Linked DNA regions of Homo sapiens: region 2 is linked to region 1. Evidence: promoter capture Hi-C in 16 types of primary human blood cells and fetal thymus (Javierre and others, 2016). All regions are on one chromosome and are shown on one strand. The core of a region is centred on a gene start or on the middle of the fragment in contact, and the rest is flanking DNA. Distances in the headings are between cores, read along the strand shown. Region 1 holds the start of C11orf65 (chromosome 11 open reading frame 65). Region 2 overlaps ALKBH8 (alkB homolog 8, tRNA methyltransferase).

Region 1 (5,614 bases), core at 642-3,141:
ATTTTTATATTTCATCCAGTACATTTAGGAATTTTTGTTCTAAATTATTTACTGGCTTAGTTTTGCAGTTTTTTAATTTAAAATTTTTAAATTGTGGTAAAATATACATAAATTTATCCTTCTAACTAGTTTCAATTGTACAATTCAGTGGACTTAAGTACATTCACATTGTTGTGTAATTTTGAATTTAATTTTTTTTTTTTTTTAGAGGGAATCTTGCTGTGTTGCCAGGCTGAAGTGCAATGGCGCTATCTCGGCTCACTGCAACCAACCTCTGCCTCCCGGGTTCTATCAATTCTCCTGCCTCAGCTTCCTGAGTAGCTGGGACTACAGGCAGCGCGCCACCAGGAGATTGAGACCATCCTGGCTAACACAGTAAAACCCCGTCTCTACTAAACATACAAAAAATTAGCCGGGTATCATGGAGGGCGCCTGTAGTCCCAGCTACTTGGGAGGCTGGGCTAATTTTTGTATTTTTAGTAGAGAGGGGGTTTCACCATGTTGTCCAGGCTGGTCTTGAACTCCTGACCTCAAGTGATCCGCCCACCTCAGCCTCCCAAAGTGCTGGGATTACAGGTGTGAGCCACCACACCTGGCCTGAATTTAAATTTTTTAACCCAGTTTCTATTAGATTGAAAATTAAGATATACATAATGTTTCCATGACTATATTTTTACAGTTTATTGTTCATAACTACTGTGTATTAATGCATCAAGGCAACTACATAAAGAGGAACTGAAGCTCACCCCTTGCTTATGATTGTGATGATTTTAAAGAACTCTGGAAGTTCAGTGAGTCACTGAATTAACCTACCAAGAATTTTTTCTGTACAAATGTTTTCATTATACAGGGAAATTTCTCTTCAGGTGTTTCTTTTCCCTCCTTAAAAGTTTATCTTCCTTACAAACAAATTATATTCCATGCATGAACATAGGACGAACATAGCAAAACTGGGCAGTTCTGAACAAGATTTTTTCACATTGCAATAATCTGTGACCAACTAAAGCACTGCCAAAGTGTCAGACTCAGAATTCAAGCAAGTCAGACTTGCTTTAGATAAGCAGTGCTTGCATTATTTAAGGTCATTTGAAAACTCATTCAAGAGGTCGTCTGTTTTCACTTAAAGCAGTTTAGCTTAACCAGCTGAAGAGCTTACATTTAGAAATAACATTGGACTGCAAGTCACGTATTCTTTGACCTTGAGCAAGACCTGTCAAATAGCTAGAAGGATCAGTTGTCTCATTTTCAAATGAATAAATTAAACTAATTAAATAGGCCGGGCGCGGTGGTTCACGCCTGTAATCCTAGCACTTTGGGAGGCCAAGGCGGGAGATGGGGTAGGGGGGGATCGCTGGAGCCCAGGAGTTCAAGACCAGCCTGGACAACATGGAGAAACCCTGTCGCCACTATTAATAAAAATAGAAAAATGAGCCTGGCGTGGTGGTGCACTCCTACGGTCCCAGCTACTCGGGAGGCTGACGTGGGAGAATCACCTGAGCCAGGGGAGTTCCAGGCTGCAGTGAGCCGAGATCGCGCCACTGCACTCCAGCCTCGGCCACAGATTGAGACCCTATCTCAAGAAAAATTTTACAAAAATTAATAGAAAATATTTCATTATATTTCTCAACATCTTTAAGGTTCTTGGTTGAAATGACTGGGCTTTATTATATACTAAGCCCAACTTCGTAGACAATCACTTTGCTTTCCCTTCCAAAATCCTTTGCCTCAAAGCCACTGACAATCGAAAGCGGGCTTCTAACAGAACCAGCAGCCTTCACAAGCGGTTGGTCTATATCCCCTGCACTTTGTCAGAGCGCGAATAGAGGAAAGGCGGGGCCTAGAAGGCGGGGCTAGGAGGGCAATGGGGCGGGACAGAACGGATTGAGTTACGTCATTTCCGCCTGCGACGTTACCTAGGAGTCCAGCGGCGCCCGGGCCAGCAGCGATTGGTAGGTGAAGGGAATAGTGTCCCTTCTCTCAGCGCGTACTACTGTTCCGGTAGCCTTTGTGCCCACTGGTTTGAGCCTTCGTTGTTTCAAGGCCCTAAAGAACCCATACCCTTGATACCATTCCCCATCCGCCCCTCTTAAGGACGTTTCATTCCTCTAAAGCCCTCCCAGCGAGGCCTCCAGCTGGTTTACAGTCCTGCCCGGGAGTAACCCCTTCCTCAGAGCTCCTTTCCTCGCCCTCGGTGAAGTTGCGTCGGGCTGGTTGACAAGTCCTTACTGCTCATACTGCGCCTTCACAGATCCCCACACCCCAATCCTCCGCAAAGATATTACTCCGTCCACCTTCCCGCTGACCGGGAAGTACACATTAATCTTCCTTAGATTTTTCCTCATTTCTTTCCTTTGCCCCCTCCCATTTGTTTTACGTCTTTTCAGTTTTTTTAGAGATGGAAAAGGGAAACGCGTTTTTAAAGAATAGGTTAGTTTTTCTTCTCCTGCCCCTAGCATCAAGGACCACAGGTAAAAAGGAAAAGCGAAATTACGAAACTTATAAAGGCCACGCGAATCATTTGTTTATTCAATAAATTTAGTAGAGGAAACAAAATAGGACGTATACAGGTTCCAATTCAAGCAAAGTAAAGATTGTTTGCTGCTTTAAAAGTGAAACCAAGAATCCAAACACGTCTTGTGGGCTTTTTTCCACGAAGCGTAAAAATAAATAAGTGAAAACATCATCTATTATGATAAAAAATTTTATTGATTAGGGATATAATAAGCTTGGAAAATACTTATCTGTGAATCTACAAGTGGCACATGGGTGTAGTAAAATACTTCATTGCCTGAGCAGTTGTTTGATAGTACATTTTATTTGGTTAGTTTTTTGTTGTTGTTTGTTTTTGAGAAGGCATCTCGCTGTGTTGCCCAGGCTGAGTGCAGTGGCGTGATCTCAGTTCACTGCAACCTCTGCCTCCTGGGTTCAAGTTATTCTCCTGCCTCAGCCTTCCGAGTAGCTGTGACTGCAAGTGTGCGCCACCACACCCAGTTTATTTTTGTATTTTTACTAGAGACAGGGTTTCACCATATTGGCCAGGCTGGTCTCAAACCCCTGACTTAAGGTGATCTGCCCACCTTGGCCTCCCAAAATGTTAGGATTACAGGCCTGAGCCACCAGACCCGGCCTGGTAGTACATTTTAGTATCTTAAAACTTATGAAGGGTTTTCACAATGGTTATTTTATCTGGAGCATCATAATAACCATATAAAGTCGATCTTATTTCTTATCTAAAGCCAGCAACGGTCCCACCCTCCTTTCTGCTCCAGATGGTGTCCTCTTACACCTACTCAAAGGTTTTACCATTTAACTTATCCCTTTTTTTGCCCCTTTAAGTTCTCCGTCACTTTAATTTCTCCCTCACTACTGGATGGTACATTTTAACATGCTTTAGAATCTGTCGTTTTTTGTTGTTGTTGTTGTTTTTTTTTTTTTTTAGACCGAGTTTCACTCTTGTTGCCCAGGCTGGAGTAGTGGCATGATCTCGACTCACCGCAACCTCCGCCTGCCAGGTTCAAGCAATTCTCCTGCCTCAGCCTTCCTGAGTAGCTGGGATTACAGGCATGCGCCACCACACCCAGCTAATTTTGTATTTTTAGTAGAGACGGGATTTCTCCATTTTGGTCAGGCTGGTCTCAAACTCCCAACCTCAGATGATCCGCCCACCTTGGCCTCCCAAAGTGCTGGGATTACAGGCGTGAGCCACCGCGCCCAGCCTTTTTTTTTTAAAAAAAAACCTTTAATCCATTCTCACTCTCTAGCTACACCCCATTTTTCTGCTCCCTTACAGCACTCCAAAGAATTACTACTGTACTTACTGTCTCAACTTTCCCACTTCCTCAACCCAACCCAAACTTCCTTCCCTGCTTACTCCACTGAAGCAGTGCCTGTACAGTCACTAGTGACTTTATCTGGCCAAATCTCCCTTTTTTTCCTCTGTATTTACTTGCCCTTGCAACAATATTTGACACAATTGAATATGTTCTTTCTTGAAATTGTGGAACTTCATTGTTTATTTCTGAATCAGATAATTTTGAATGCTGGAATATATTTCCTCTATATTTTGTGTATTCATAAACATATAATGGTGGCATTTATGACATACTTTTTTGGCAGCTTCTAAACACCCTTTAGCCTATGTCACTAGAGAAGCAGGAAGCAGGTGTATGCAGAAAGCCCGTGTAAAATTATTTAGATCAAAGTATTCAATAAACTGGTTCAGGATTTTCAAGGGATTTTTAAGATCCAGTGTTAAATTTCCACCTACAAAATTGGGAATGTATTTGGGAAAATGATGAAATTGTGATGAATTAATGCTAATGCTGTCACGTTAAATAACACACACACTACATTGATAACAGGTAAAAAATCTCACAGTTTAGTTCTTGGAAAGTATTAAAAGACCCATTTTAATCCTAATATCTAATTTACGTTTAGTTTTTTACTTTTCTAAAATTTAGAGTCAAGCATTCCCATAGAATGTTTATGGGCATAAATTAGACACCATTTTTGAGGACAGTTTGGCAGTGTTAGGTTTCAATATGCACGCTGTTTTTTTTAATGAAGTTATATTGTATATATCTGAACTAAATGCACATTGTGGAAAAATACCAACAGCATAAAAGAGTATACTGGAACAAAAACATCTCTTCCCTTTCCGAACCCAGGCTCCTCAGTCCACAGGTCCCTTCCTAGAGACAATCATTCTTAGTAATTTCTCATATCCCTTTCCAGAGAGAGTCAATTCAAATATATATGTGCACCAGGCGCAGTGGCTCATGCCTGTAATCCCAGCGCTTTGGGAGGCCGAGGTGGGTGGATCACGAGGTCAAGAGATGGAGACCATTCTGACCAACATGGTGAAACCCCATCTCTACTTAAAATACAAAAATTAACTGGGCACGGTGGTGCACACCTGTAGTGCCAGCTACTTGGGAGGCTGAGGCAGGAGAATCACTTGAACCCGGGAGGCGGAGGTTGCAGTGAGTGGAAATCGCGGGGAGGCTAAGGCAGGAGAATCGCTTGAACCCAGGAGGCGGAGGTTGCAGTGCACCAAAATCGCTCCACTGCATTCCAGCCTGGCGACAGAGCGAGACTCCGTCTCAGAAAACAAACAAAAAACAGAAATATATATGTGCATACCTTTTGTCATAGCAATTCCACTTGTAAAAACTATCCTACAAAAATTGTTGCCGCTGAGCGCAATGGCTTATGCCTGTAATGCTAGCACTTTGGGAGGCCAAGGCGGGTGGATTTCTTGAGGCCAGCAGTTCGAGCCCACCCTGGCCAACAGGGTGAAACTCTGTCTCTACTAAAAATACAAAAATTAGCCAGGCGTGGTGGCACACACCTGTAATCCCAGCTACTCAGGAGGCTGAGACATGAGAATCACTTGAACCCGGGAGGTGGAGGTTGCAGTGAGCTGAGATGATGTCTCTGCACTCCAGCCTGGGTGACAGAGCAAAATTCTGTCTCAAAAAAAAAAAAAAAAAAAATTAACAAATCTTTTAGGCCTGAAATATCATTCCTTAATCTCATTTGTGCTAACAGTTATTTGTAAATTAAGAGAATAATTGTACTTAAAATGTTATCTCAGTTTCCTAACTGGAATAAT
Region 2 (5,927 bases), core at 1,833-4,332, 910 kb after region 1:
TGATGCTCCTATGTGTCACTTTCATGTTAATTTCCTTTCCTTTCACCCACAGAAATAGCCTCTCTCCTGAATTTTGTGTTTATAATTTCCTTGCTTTTTTTTTTGGCACTGCTATGTATGTATTTCTAAATAATATATGGCTTACTTTTTGATTATGACCTTTATGTAAATGGAATCATACTGTAGAGTCTGCTAATTTTTTGTGTGTTATTTCTCCCCCCACCGCTCCCCTGCCTGCTCCTTGCCTTGGTTTACGTTATAGTTGTGAAATTTGTGTATGGCACATTTTACTTAGGACCTCATAAGTAAAGAATTCATCACCTATGAGTAAAATAGCACACTTAATGGAGCTACCACATTGGAACATTTTTTAGAACCATCAGAGCTATGCTATTAGATATTCTTAGATATTTGTTCATTTTTTATTTATCTGTTCTCACTTCTCTTAGTTGGTACAAGGTAAATGAAGCATTTTTAAAAAATTGTCACAGAAATATTGATAAACTATAGAATGTATGAATAACATCATTATAATTGTTCCTTCAGGACTCTTAAGGTTGACTTTTTTACTGTCTTGTTTTTTTACAGTTTGCTATGGACAGCAACCATCAAAGTAATTACAAACTCAGTAAAACTGAGAAGAAGTTCTTAAGGAAACAGATTAAAGCCAAGCATACTTTGCTGAGACATGAAGGCATTGAGACAGTATCCTATGCCACTCAGGTGACCTAAAACTACTATTATTATTAGAATGTAAATGTACTGACATGTTAATGTATTATATTAATATTTGCTAATAATTGCCTAAGGCTGTAATTGTTCAGTCATGTGTTACATCCATATTAGAGGTACATATGATATGAACTGCTAACTTTCTATTTTGGTCCATAGCCTATAGTTTGCATTTCTATTTATTTTGTTGTTTGAACTAGAAGAGGTTGTAGTTATATATTAATAATAATACTGTGCAAGTTTCTCAGTTTCCTAAGCATACTTATATTCATTATTATATTTAATTCCCTAGAAGTCCTTATGAGATAGGTGAGAAAACTAAAGTTCTGAGAGGTTATGATATGTCTCCATTGATATAAGCTAGTAAGTAGCTAATAGAAACTTAAAGCTAGATCTTCCATATCCTACTACAGCCCTTGTTCTTCTCTTCCCAACCTTAACCTGTTTTATAAAGTATTTTGATTATGTGCTGTTAAACATTTTTATTTTATTAGACCTTATTAACAAAGTCTTTTCATTATCTGCGGACAATAATTAAATGAGATGATAAATGTGAGGATCGTGAGATTTCCTGGGTTATGAATTAGGAGAACTCAGTTTAACTCTTAGCTTTTCTGGACACGAGTAGTAGTATCCTCTGACCTCAGCTTTCTTCATTTTTAAGCAGGGCATAGTATTGCATACCTTTTTAACCCCATTAGATTGTTAGATTCCAGAGAATCTAATTGTACTTACTGGACATTAAATTACTCCATGAATATAAGGAGTTCTTATCTTTTTGGCTCATAAAGTTATAGAATAAAAGTAGAAAGTAAGCTTTAGATATCATTTAATTGAGGGGTGGACATACAATTGAGAAGGTGGAGCAGGGATTAAAACTTAGGCCTCTCAACTCTCAGACCAATACTCTTGCCTTAATGCTTACTATGCTGTCTTCTGTACAACATCATAGCTTGAGAATGAGCAGTCTGTTGAGGCACATTTGAATTTAGGAGGTAAAAGGCCCATACTTGGAGTTAAATATTAATGTCTTCAGAGAATTTAAGCCACATTCCTATAGCAAGGATGAAATAGATAATAGATTAGAATTAATATGTTTGCATACACTTTACTGTTTCAGTCAAGAGCCACTGAGGCTGTGAGACATTCAGAAGATTAAACTGACATACACTGCTCTCATCACTTTCCAAGAGTGACTTGTGTTCCTTTCCTTACAGGGTTTATGAAGAGAAGTAGCAAGAAAAAAAAAATAGGCTCCATTTCTTTGACCCCTCTGAAGCTTGTTTCTGGTTGGGTCTGCCTTTTCTTTAGGATCTCTAGAAGCTTTGATGTCCTTCATGGCTTCCAAAGTAGCATTTTATTTAGGCTTTCTTTTTTCTCCATATTCTTAAAGGAAAAGAATAAAATTGTAGATGGACCTCTAATTATATTTTATCTTTCCAGGGGAGAGCAAATATTGTTTTAATGATATTGTATTAGTCTGTTGTCATGCTGCTGATAAAGACATACCCGAGACTGGGTAATTTTTTAAAGAGAAAGAGGTTTAATGAACCCACAGTTCCACGTGGCCGGGGAGGCCTCACAATCGTGGCAGAAGGCGAAAGTCCTGGCTTACATGGCGGCAGGCAAGAAAGAATGAGAGCCAAGCGAAAGGGGAAACCCCTTATAAAACCATCAGATCTCATGAGACTTATTCACTACCACGAGAACATTATAGGGGAAATGGCCCCCATGATTCAATTATTTCCCAGTGGGTCCCTCCCACAAAATGTGGGAATTATGGGAGCTAAAATTCAAGATGAGATTTGGGTGGGGACACGCCAAACCATATCGGATGTATTATAATTTTAGGCTCCTTTGTACAAATTTATGGCATTACAGATTTTTCTAGAGCAATGATCCTCAAATTGTCAGGACCAAAGATAACTTAAAAAAAATTCACATTCTCTACTTCATACATACTCCTCCTTATTTAGAAAATTGCTTGAACAATTATAAATAAAATAATAGTTCCATTTAATTATTGCATTAATTATATTACATTTAGTTATGACATTTAATTATATGTATCTCACATTTAATGGAAAATAAGTTCCTCTCCTCTTCTACCGCACTTGTTTTTGTGTGGTTTACCTTTAGAGTTGCCCACAAAACACTCAGACGGCATCTTAGAGGACTTCTAGTATTCCTGAAGTCATACTTCATCATCTTCCATTCCTAGATGGGGTAGTGGACCCTCAACACCAATGAAACCTTTGCTCTTCCATAGATTTAGGAATATGGGAATGTTTTTGCAACTATGGCCACATATAACCAAGTTATTTTGGTATTTTAATTAATAAACCTCATTAAGTGAGGTCCAGGGCAAGCCATCTGAGACTCCATTTTACTCCATATCATATAGTATTGTATTAGTGGGCTTGTTTATTATGTATGTATATGCTTGCATGCATACAAAGTACTGGCTGTCCCATGACAAAACAGTTTTACTTTCCTTATTGTCCAATTTCATAATAATTCTTTTATATCCTTTTCAAACAAAGTTCTAGGTATTCTTATTTTGTGTAATAAACCAATACACAATGTACTATCACTGAGCTTAGTATAAATTAAGGGTTGGCAAACTACTGTCCTTAGACTAAATCAGGGTTGTGACCAAAATAATGAGTTTTACATTCTTAAAGTGTTAAAAAATAATACTAAGACTATCTGACAGAAACTTTTATGGCCTGCCAAGCCTAAAATATTTACTATCTACCTCTTCTCAGAAAAACGTCATCAACACCTGGTATAAATGAAGAAATTGATGAGAGTAGGCCATCCATGGCTTTCTTTTGTTATATTGAAATGTTTTTAGAAGTCATAGAACATAAATTAAAAATCTTTACATTGTATAGAATGGTTAAGTATAGAGACTATATGGGTGCTAGACCATGAACATCAGAATAAAAATAAGAGACTCCTCTTTCATCCCTGCAAAATTTCCTTGAATAAAGTTTAGTGCAGGACTATGCAAACAGCAGGAAGTAATCGTGAAACTTACAAAGGAAAAAGTTTTCATTGTGAACTGACTGAATTACTTAGTCTGAATTTCCTTAGAGGAAAATTTTTTCCTAATTATGTTCAATAGAAGCTATAATTGGTTTTTCTTTGAGGTAATAGTACCTTTACTTTTAATTTTTAGTAAACATTGTATAATGGTTATATTAAAAGTGCGGATCCTGGAAACGGACAGAAATAGGTTTAAACCCACCCCTAATCACCACCTTAACCTAATTTGTCAGATCTTCTTCTATGAAATTGGGCTGATATTACCCAAATAAATTCAATATGTTGTGAAGATTATGTTAATGAGGATTGAGTAGATAAAAGCTTATAGAACAGTCTTGCCAAAAAGCAAGTGTTATGTAACTGTCCTTTCTCCTCTCCACCTCTTTCATTATGTTAAATTTATATTTCTGAATAATAGTCATGTTTTAATTTGCATTTATGGTCATTTAGAAATGAATATTTTGTGAAATTGGCTATTTAAACAACACAATTTACAATATAGGAGTCCTTTTTATTCCCCAAATTTTTAGTAAATTGGTTTACATACTTTGTATGAAATTAGCAAACCAAACAACCACTACAAGGAAATGCTTTTTTTTTCTTAATTACATCTTTTTTAAAAAAAATCTTATTTTAAAACAAATGGGTTGGTATCAGTTGCTCATGTTACTTTCTTTTTGTTTGTTTGTTTGTTTTTTAAGAGCCTGGTTGTTGCCAATGGTGGTTTGGGTAATGGTGTGAGTCGGAACCAGCTGCTCCCGGTTTTAGAGAAATGTGGACTGGTGGATGCTCTCTTAATGCCACCTAACAAGCCGTACTCATTTGCAAGATACAGAACTACAGAAGAATCTAAGAGAGCCTATGTTACCCTCAATGGAAAAGAAGTAGTGGATGATTTAGGACAAAAGATCACTCTGTATTTGAATTTTGTGGAAAAAGGTATTATCATACAATTATCTTTTAAAAAATGATTCTTCTGGGTGTTTTCTTTTCATAGACTTAAGTTGGGAGGTTCAGTTATTGTGAAACAAAATGAGGAAGCAGGTTAGCAGCTCCTTTTACTTTAACAAACATTCTTTAAGCACCTATTTGTGCCAGGCATGGGACAAGTAGTTGACAGTACAGAGGTGAATAAGATACAACCTGCCTTTACAAAGCTAGTCCCACCAGTCAACAATATATTTATTAGGCACATGGCTTATTTTGGAACCCTCCTGCCTAATTGTGTTTTTCAAAATTTAATAATGAGGGTTTGCATTACTAGTTTATTTCACATATCTACCCAGGAGCTTTGAATTAATCACTTAAGAATGAATCGTGATCCAAATGATCATGTACCAATCTTCATATTTATAGCAGAACACCTGTAGCTACCAAAGATTCCTAAAACTTTATTTTTATTTATTTATTTATTTTTTTGCTTTTTGAGACAGAGTTTTGCTCTTGTTGCCCAGGCTGGAGTGCAATGGCACAATCTCGGCTCACTGCAACCTCCACCTCCCGGGTTCAAGCAATTCTCCTGCCTCAGCCTCCTAAGTAGCTGGGATTACAGGCATGTGCCACCATGCCTGGCTAATTTTTGTATTTTTAGTAGAGATGGGGTTTCACCGTGTTGGCCAGTCTGGCCTCGAACTCCTGACCTCGTAATCCGCCTGCCTTGGCCTCCCAAAGTGCTGGGATTACAGGCGTGAGCCACCGTGCCCGGCTGATTCCTAAAACTTTATGGTGGTGCTGTCCAGTAGAACTTCCTGTGATGGTAGAAATGTTCCTGTCTGTGCTGCCCAGTTCAATAGCCACTGGATAGTCTGATTGAGGAACTGAATAATTTAATTAAATAAGTATAGCTTTATATATTGATTTACAGAATTGTACAGGAATTATTACTTCTGCCCCATGAAAATGAGATGTATTGAGATGAACTTAGATTTAAACATCTAATCATATATTCATTTGCCACCTATTTAGGCAGTAAAAGAGCCCTGTTTTAGATATCCTAGGAGTGGGTAGGTGACTATAATCTGCTCAAATTTATGTTTTTGTAAAATAAGACTCGAAGGAAAACTTTTACAGACTCTTTTAAAGGTATATTTTAGAAACTATATTTCTCAGTGCTCATATGCATTTAATTTTAAATCTGACTTAAG

The links. Contacts are between HindIII fragments. The CHiCAGO score rates a contact against its expected background, and 5 or more counts as called.
Region 2: a contact is called between a fragment that was not itself captured here and the fragment with the promoter of C11orf65 in region 1, in 2 of 17 cell types (monocytes and naive CD8 T cells). The highest score is 6.9, in monocytes.

Annotation. Positions count from the first base shown.
Region 1 is chr11:108,463,806-108,469,419 of GRCh38, reverse strand. C11orf65 (chromosome 11 open reading frame 65) reads left to right here and starts at 1,891. Exons shown (of 9, transcript NM_152587.5): 1 at 1,891-1,949. RefSeq lists a cis regulatory region at 1,807, enhancers at 1,735-1,879, 1,820-2,672 and a silencer at 3,704-3,998. The HindIII fragment of the contact is 4,195 bases long and covers 1-2,727 here.
Region 2 is chr11:107,555,561-107,561,487 of GRCh38, reverse strand. It overlaps ALKBH8 (alkB homolog 8, tRNA methyltransferase), which reads left to right. Exons shown (of 12, transcript NM_138775.3): 2 at 589-723; 3 at 4,485-4,722. The coding sequence starts at 595. Among named protein-coding and RNA genes, the nearest start is that of ALKBH8, 7.2 kb to the left of the region's middle. The HindIII fragment of the contact is 2,049 bases long and covers 2,058-4,106 here.